Linked DNA regions of Homo sapiens: all the other regions are linked to region 3. Evidence: promoter capture Hi-C in human tissues and cell types (Jung and others, 2019). All regions are on one chromosome and are shown on one strand. Each heading gives the region's core, a stretch centred on a gene start or on the middle of the fragment in contact. The rest is flanking DNA. Distances are from core to core; before and after follow the strand shown.

Evidence for each region. Contacts are between HindIII fragments. The study calls those that stand out against the background at their distance.
Region 1: a fragment that was not itself captured here is called in contact with the fragment with the promoter of RBX1 in region 3 in 1 of the 25 tissues and cell types used here (IMR-90 fibroblasts).
Region 2: a fragment that was not itself captured here is called in contact with the fragment with the promoter of RBX1 in region 3 in 1 of the 25 tissues and cell types used here (hippocampus).

The regions. Positions count from the first base shown.
Region 1 is chr22:40,685,551-40,688,250 of GRCh38, forward strand. No RefSeq gene overlaps it. Among named protein-coding and RNA genes, the nearest start is that of MCHR1, 7.4 kb to the left of the region's middle. The HindIII fragment of the contact is 4,990 bases long and covers 1-2,700 here.
Region 2 is chr22:40,646,825-40,649,524 of GRCh38, forward strand. No RefSeq gene overlaps it. Among named protein-coding and RNA genes, the nearest start is that of MRTFA, 11 kb to the left of the region's middle. The HindIII fragment of the contact is 3,334 bases long and covers 1-2,700 here.
Region 3 is chr22:40,950,046-40,952,745 of GRCh38, forward strand. RBX1 (ring-box 1) reads left to right here and starts at 1,333. Exons shown (of 5, transcript NM_014248.4): 1 at 1,333-1,431. The coding sequence starts at 1,354. RefSeq lists enhancers at 295-885, 1,400-1,609, 2,065-2,653 and a silencer at 770-1,349. The HindIII fragment of the contact is 18,244 bases long and covers 1-2,700 here.

The sequences.
Region 1 (2,700 bases), core at 48-2,547, 260 kb before region 3:
AGCACCTGGTAGACTTTCACAGCTGAGAGACATTGACCTCAAAGTTTAGGTTGCAAGTGAGTCCACAGAACCACTTCCGCACATTGCTGTTCACAAGAGAAGCAAGAAGAGCACCAAACACGGCAACTGGCATTGGGTTTGTGTTTGCTTGTTCCTTTCTGAATCATCAGTTTTCATTTAATTAATTAACTTATTTTTATTTATCTATTTATTTTGAGACAAGATCTGGCTCTGTTGCCCAGGCTGGAGTACAGCGGTGTGATCTCAGCTCACTGCAGCCTCGACCTCCTGGACTCAAGCAATCCTCCCCCAACTTCAGCCTTCCAAGTAGCTGGGACTACAGGTGCATGTCACTATGCCCAGCTATTTTTTGTTTTGTTTTGGTGGAGACGGGGTTCCACCATGTTGCCCAGGCTGGTCTTGAACTCCTGAGCTCAAGCAATCTGCCCACCTCAGAGTCCCAAAGGGCTGGGATTACAGGTGTGACCCACTGTACCTGGCCTAATATACATATTTATTTATTTATTTATTTATTTATTTTTATTTATTTTTGAGACAGAGTCTCGCTCTGATGCCCAGGCTGGAGTGCAGTGGTGCAATCTCAGCTCACTGCAATCTCTGCCTCCAGGGTTCAAGCAATTCTCCTGCCTCAGCCTTCTGAGTAGCTGGGATCACAGGCATGCGCCACTACGCCTGGCTAATTTTTGTAGTTTTGGTAGAGACAGGGTTTCACACTGTTGACCAGGCTGGTCTTGAACTCCTGACCTCAGGTGATCTGCCCACCTTGGCCTTCCAAAGTGTGGGATTACAGGCAAGAGCCACCACGCCCGGCCTCTTTTTTATTGTGGTAAAATACACCTAACATAAAATTTACTATTTTAACAATTTCAAGTGTACAATTCAGTGGCATGAAATACATTCACGTTAATGCGCAGCTCTCACCACCATCTATCTCCAGAACTTTTCCATCTTCCCAAACTGAAATTCCATACCAATTAAACACCAACTGGCCATTCCTCTGTCCCCATAACTCCCAGCAACCACCGGGCTACTTTCTGTCTCTGGATTTGACTGCTCTAGGAACCTCATATAAGTAGAATCACACAGAATTTGTTCTTTCGTGACTGGCTTATTTCACTTGGCATAATGTCCTCAAGGTTCATCCACGTTGTCATATGTGTCAGAATCTTCCTCCTTTTAAAGGATGAATGAATATTCCATTGTATGTGTATACCACATTTTGTTTATCCATTCATCTGTTGTTTCTACCTTTTGGCTATTGTGAACCTGACTGCACAACTATCTGTTGGAGTCAGTGCTTTCCATTCTTTTCAGCATATACCCATAAGAATTGCCAGATCAGGCCGGGCACGGTGGCTCAGGCCTGTAATCCCAGCACTTTGGGAGGCCGAGGCAGGCAGATCACGAGGTCAGGAGATCGAGACCATCCTGGCTAACACGGTGAAACCCCGTCTCTACTAAAAATACAAAAAATTAGCCAGGCATGGTGGCGGGTGCCTGTGGTTCCAGCTACTCGGGATGCTGAGGCAGGAGAATGGCGTGAACCTGGGAGGTGGAGCTTGCAGTGAGCTGAGATTGTGCCACTGCACCCCAACCTGGGCGACAGAGTGAGACTCCATTTCAAAAAAAAAAAAATTAGCTAGGCATGGTGGCGGGTGCCTGTAGTCCCAGCTACTTGGGAGGCTGAGGCAGGAGAATCACTTGAATCTGGGAGGTGGAGTTTGCAGTGAGCTGAGATTGCACCATTGCACTCCAGCCTGGGCGACAGAGTGAGACTTCATCTCAAAAACAAAACAAAACAAAACAAACAAAAAAAAAGCCAGATCAGGGGCCGGGCACAGTGGTTTATGCCTGTAATCCCAGCACTTTGGGAGGCCAAGGCAGGAGGATCGCCTAAGCTCAGGAGTTCGAGACCAGCCTGGCCAACATGGTGAAACCTCATCTCTACTAAAAATACAAAAATTAGACAGGCATGGTGGCACATGCCTGTAATCCCAGCTTGGGAGGCTGAGGCAGGAGAATCACTTGAATCTGGGAGGTGGAGGTTGCAGTAAACAGAGATCATGCCACTCATACTAGCCTGGGCTGCAGAGTGAGACTCTGTCTCAAAAAAAAAAAAAAAAAAAAAAAAAAAAGGAAAAAATAATTGTCATATCATATGGTAGTTCTATTTTCAATTTTTTGAGAAACTGCCATAGTGGCTGTACCATGTTACATTCCCATCAACAATGTGCAAGTGTTCCCATTTCTCCACATCCTCATCAACACTTACTTTCTTTTTCTTTTTAAAATAAAAGACATTCTAATGCGCCTCAAGTGGTTTCATTGTGATTTTGATTCGCATTTCCCTAATGATTAGCAATGTTGAGCATCTGGTCATGTGCTTCCTGACTATTTGTATTTCTTCTTTGGAGAAATGTCTATTCAAGTCTTTTGCCCATTTTTAAAATTGGGTTGTTCTTTTGTTATTGTTAGCAACTATATTTTACTCAATTCAAACTAGTAATAACTGGTTCTGCATGACTTGTTACTAAGAAAAATAAAAATAAATGTCAAAAAATTAAGCTCCTTCTCCTCTGCAGTTCAATAAATTACTTTTTTCTTTTTCTAAATTGAGCACTGGGATGGAGAACCACTTGTTCCTCAAACCTCTTCTTCCTCCCATACCTATGATCTGTA
Region 2 (2,700 bases), core at 88-2,587, 300 kb before region 3:
GACAGAGCTCGACTCTGTCTCAAAAAAAATAACAACAACAACAACAAAAAAACTTGCAAAGATTTTTTTTTTCTTAAATAAAAGCTTGCCATGATGTTATAGCCTAGGGTGAGGAGAATCAGACACAAAATTTAAGTGGATGCCAAAAACTTAGCAATTAAGAAAAATAATACAATATTTCAAAAAATCAAAATTAGGCCAGGCGCGGTGGCTCAAGCCTGTAATCCCAGCCTGGCCAACATGGTGAAACCCTGTCTCTACTACAAATACAAAAATTAGATGGGTGTGGTGGCGGGCGCCTGTAATCCTAGCTACTCTGGAGGCTGAGGCATGAGAATCACTTGAACCCCGGAGGCGGAGGTTGCAGTGAGCCGAGATCACACCACTTGCACTCCAGCCTGGGCAATAGAGCGAAACTTAGTCTCAAAAAAAAAAAAAAACAAAAAAAAACAAATGTAGGCTTGGAGCTGCCGGTGGCCATCTAGCTGTCAGAAGGCAAGAAGAGATTTGAAAATAAGGCCCAGGCCAGGCGCGGTGGCTCACACCTGTAATCCCAGCACTTTGAGAGGCCGAGGCCGGCGGATAACCTGAGGTCAGGAGTTCCAGACCAGACTGGCCAACATGGTGAAACCCCGTCTCTACTAAAAATACAAAAATTAGCCAGGCATGGTGGCAGGCACCTGTAATCCCAGCTACTTGGGAGGCTGAGGCTGGAGAATTGCTTGAACCCGGGAGGCAGAGGTTGCAGTGGGCCGAGATCGTGCCAAGAGTGAAACTCCCTCTCAAAAAAAAAAAAAGAAAGAAAGAAAAGAAGGCCATGTCTACAGCCATATCACCCTGAACACACCGGATCTCATCTGAAAATGAAACCAAATAACAACAAGGAGCAATGAAGGGTATAGAAGAGACAGGGGCAGAGTCCCCATGATATGATTCAAACCCCTGGATGGAGCAGCGCCTGAAGTCCTTAGCATATGGGGCAAATCACAAAGTTGGGTGGGGAGGTGATAAAGACTCCAGCAATTATGTGGAACTCTGCACTTTGAGTTGGTGGAACAAGTTATACTGATTTCTCTCCTTACCAAAATGCTACCTGATTAGAACAGCATTCTGAAGTCATTCTTTTTTTTTTGGAGATGGAGTCACCAAGGCTGGAGTGCAGTGGTGCGATCTTGGCTCACCACAACCTCTGCCTCCCCAGTTCAAGCGATTCTCCTGCCTCAGCCTCCCGAGTAGCTGGGATTACAGGCATGCACCACCATGCTCGGCTAATTTTTGGATTTTTAGTAGAGACGGGGTTTCACCATGTTGATCCACCTGCCTTGGCCTTCCAAAGTGCTGGGATTACAGGTGTGAGCCACCGTGCCCGGCTGTGAAGTCATTTTTTTACATGTCTGTTTGTGCTGCCTTCCTACCTACTCATTCTGAAGTGATTATTTTTTTCTTGCCTGGATGGACAAGGAGACTCAATACCCCACTGCACCTGAGTTTTGGAAAACTAGAGTGTGGAAAAAGCAGCAGCAGCTGCAGCAAAAACACTGATGAGAGTCAAACTGAATGATTATATTACACTAATGGTACCAGCTCCCGACAGGTGAATAAAATGTGCCTCATGATAGCAGTCATACAACAAATACCTTACAAGAAACTCACAGAGAAGAGGGGCAGAGCAACTCAGTGGAAAAGCAGGTGTGGTTTCAAAGCCTGGCTCTGCCCCGAGCCATGTGACCTTAGGAAATAGACTGTGTCCCTGAGTTTCAATCTCGTCACCTGTAAATTAGGAGTAACCATACAGATCGCAAGTCAACACCTGCCCTTGCACCGCTGCGGGGCTCAGCGGTCACTGACATGCAGTGAAAAAGTGGAAGTTCTAGCTGGGCGCGGTGGCTTATGTCTGTAATCCCAGTACTCTGGGTGGCTGAGGTGGGCAGATCATGAGGTGAGGAGTTCGAGACCAGCCTGGCCAACATGGTGAAACTTCGTCTCTACTAAAAATACAAAAATTAGCCAGGCATGGTGGCGTGTGCCTGTAATCCTAGCTACTCTGGAGGCTGAGGCAGGAGAATCGCTTGAACCCTGGGAGGTGAAGGCTGCAATGAGCCGAGATCGCGCCATTGCACTCTAGCCTGGGCGACAGAGCAAGACTCTGTCTCAAAAAAAAAAAAAAAAAAAAAAGGAAAGAAAAGTAGAAGTTCCTTTCCCGTCTATCCTGGGTCTTCACTGTCTACGTGCGTCCCCTCACTCCCAGCTGCTTGGGACCACGCTGTGCTTTGGTGTGGGTCAGTACCTGGACCCCTGGCCTGTCCCCTCAAGGTGTGCTTCTTCCTTCCCACAACACCAGGCCAGAGGTACTTGCTTTCCTTTCTCATCTTGGGTCTCTATTTTCCCACACCGTGGTGTGTCCCACACTTTACGGAGTGTTGGGGTGAATACAGAGAATGACAACAGAGAACTTATAGCTGTGGCCTAAACCTCATTGTAATGAGATGGAGAAAATTGTGTTCACTGGAACTCCCTTCAGAGGAAGCATTGTTTATTTATTCAGAAAAAAAAAAATTCTTTGGCCCAGTGCAGTGGCTCATACCTGTAATCCTAGCACTTTGGGAGCCCAAGGCGGGAGGATCTCTTGAACCCAGGAGTTTGAGACCAGCCTGGGAAACATAGCAAGACACGATCTCTACAAAAAATTTAAAAATTAGC
Region 3 (2,700 bases), core at 83-2,582:
CCAGAAATGGGAGAGTGACAAAGTACAGGTGCTTGGGTCGGGTGGGATGGCTCACTCCTGTGATCCCAGCACTTTGGGAGGCCGAAGTGGGAGGATCACTTGGGCCCAGGAGTTCGAGACCAGCCTAGGCAACATAGTGAGACCTTGTCTCTATTTTTTAAAAAAATTAAAAAAGAAAAAAAAAAAAAGCGGCTCTAGCACTTTGGGAGGCCGAGGCAGGCGGATCACCTGAGGTCAGGAGTTCGGGACCAGCCTGGCTAACGTGGTGAAACCCCGTTTCTACTAAAAATACAAAAAATTAGCCGGGCGTGGTGGCGGGCGCCTGTAATCTCAGCTACTCGGGAGGCTGAGGCAGGAGAATCGCTTGAATCCTGGAGGCGGAGGTTGCAGTGGGCCGAAATCGCGCCATTACACTCCAGCCTGGGCAACAAGAGTTAAAAAAGAATGCCTCACAAAAATTCAAGAAATACAGCGACTGCAGATGGGTCGGTTTCACTACAGCACAAGCAGCGGAAAAAGGACACAGATCGGGGAGAAATCACCCTACAAAGATGACAACTGAGGAATGCGGAGTGGGGACTGACACACGTTACGGTGAAACCGTGCACCACGACCAAAGGCGGTCCTAGGACTGCGACTATGTGGGCGCAGAGGCCACCCCCCAGGCTTGGCGGGCGAGTAAAGGCAGGGCTGGGGGCCTGCTCAGTGTGGCCTTAGGGAGGAACTTCGGGGGTCTCCTCTCTCCCCATCGAATCCCTGAGCAGTTCCCGAACAGAAATCGGAGACCAGACGGTGCCTGGGCCCCAGCCCTCCCACGGGGACTGCACCTTGGGCCTGGCTCGGAAGCGGGTCAGAGTCTGCGAAAGACCAGCGAGGACTCTTGGGTTTCGGGGCAGGCCGCGGGCGCCCACCCACGCCAGCACCGGGAGCCGCGCGGCGACTCGGCGAGCCCGGCAGGCAGGACAGGACTGCGGCGCAGGTCTGGCTCAGGCGGAGGAAGCAGCCGCCGCCCCAGCTGACGGAGTGCGGCCGGGGGCTTCCCAGAGGAGGCGGCGACGTCGAGCCCTTTCGAACGTTTCCACCCGGCTAGCTCACGTAGCCTCGGCCCCGCCCGGCCCCGCCCGGCCCCGCCCCACCCACTCCGGCCACCGCCCCCTCCCCGGCCTACAGTTCGCGGGTGGGGCGACCTGCGACAGCCCCTTTAAGAGGCGTGGTCACGTGCTCCGCCCCCACCTCCGCCTCGCGCGCCAGTAAGGGGTGGGGTGCGGGAGGAGGTGCCGGGGAGGTGGGGGGAGCGAAGTGTGCGCTGCTGCGCAGGCGCGGTGGTCGGACGACAGACCGTGTGTTTCCAAAATGGCGGCAGCGATGGATGTGGATACCCCGAGCGGCACCAACAGCGGCGCGGGCAAGAAGCGCTTTGAAGTGAAAAAGGTTGGGTCTCGCCAGCGCCTTCCTCAGGGAAGCTAGAGAGGCGCGGATCTGGCTGGCAGGCCCGAGGATGGTCGAGGCGCGGAGTAAAGGGTTTCATTTCAGGGCGTTCCTGGGACCGGGTACCACGAAAGGAAGCCGGGGGGCGGGTCTTAGAGTTGATCGGCGTGACGGCGGCCCACTGTTGGGGGAAGTGTTGGTTTCGCTGTGAGGCTAAGGGGCCAATCACAGAGCTGCTTATTGAGATACGCGGGGTTGCGACTTGGCGGCGGGAGCCAAGCGCTTGAGCTGTCACTGGAGTGGTTGAGAGGTGGGGGAAGGACAGGGTAGGGTGGGGTGGGGTGGGTGGAATGGGGAGTCGAAGCGAATGCGGCGGTGGAGGATGGGGCAGTGCGGCGAGAGCCTGGAACCTGAGGTCCTACCGCATTAGAGGCCTCTGAGGACCCCCCTTGGTGATCTTGCTCCGCCCCTTTTTGAAGCTTGGGGTCCTCTCACTTGGAGGGGTCCTCTCACTTGGAGGGATCCTCGCTGAACCGAGGCCTCACACTGCCTGGTTAGAGTCTGGAGTGTAATGCTTGGCTCTTCTGAGACGTCTGTTGGCTTTTCACACAACCACCCCACTCTTGGGTTCTCTGTCACGTCCAGAATCTCCCCCTTCCAAAATAATAATAAAAAGCATGGTGGAACTTGTTAAGAAAATCCGAGCCCAAATCCTGTGGCAGTTAGGGAGGGTTGAGTACTAGTCGCGAACGACTTGGTAAGCGTGGGAAAGCAAAAATGGAACGTGTCTTTTTGCATGAAATGCCTTTTAGTGGTTTGCCACAGTTTGGGAGAACAGTATCGATTCTCACCTAACATGAAAGCTGTTCAAAATGGAGATTCTAAAATAGGGAAGATATTCCTAGAACATCTGGCTAAACACTGACAATATCCCCCGTCCTAGTGCTTTTTGGTGTCTCATTGTGGCCACTGCTGCTCAGTTACAGCCAGCAGCCATATTGAAAAATAATAGAAGTAGGGGCTTTTCCTCCACCTTGAAGCTGTGATGTGAAAAGTGGTAAAGAAGTTACTAGGCACTGAGAATGGGGTTTGAAAGCGAAGAAGGTTTGGGAGTATTTGTAATTGAGGAAGCCAGAGTTGAATGAATGAAATTCTGTTAAACTCTTACTGGAATTATTATCTTAATAGAAGAGTCTAAACATATAAAAGTTGAGAACATCAGTTTATTTTATGGTAAGAATCAAAATTCTAGTGAATTGTAGAATTTGTTAT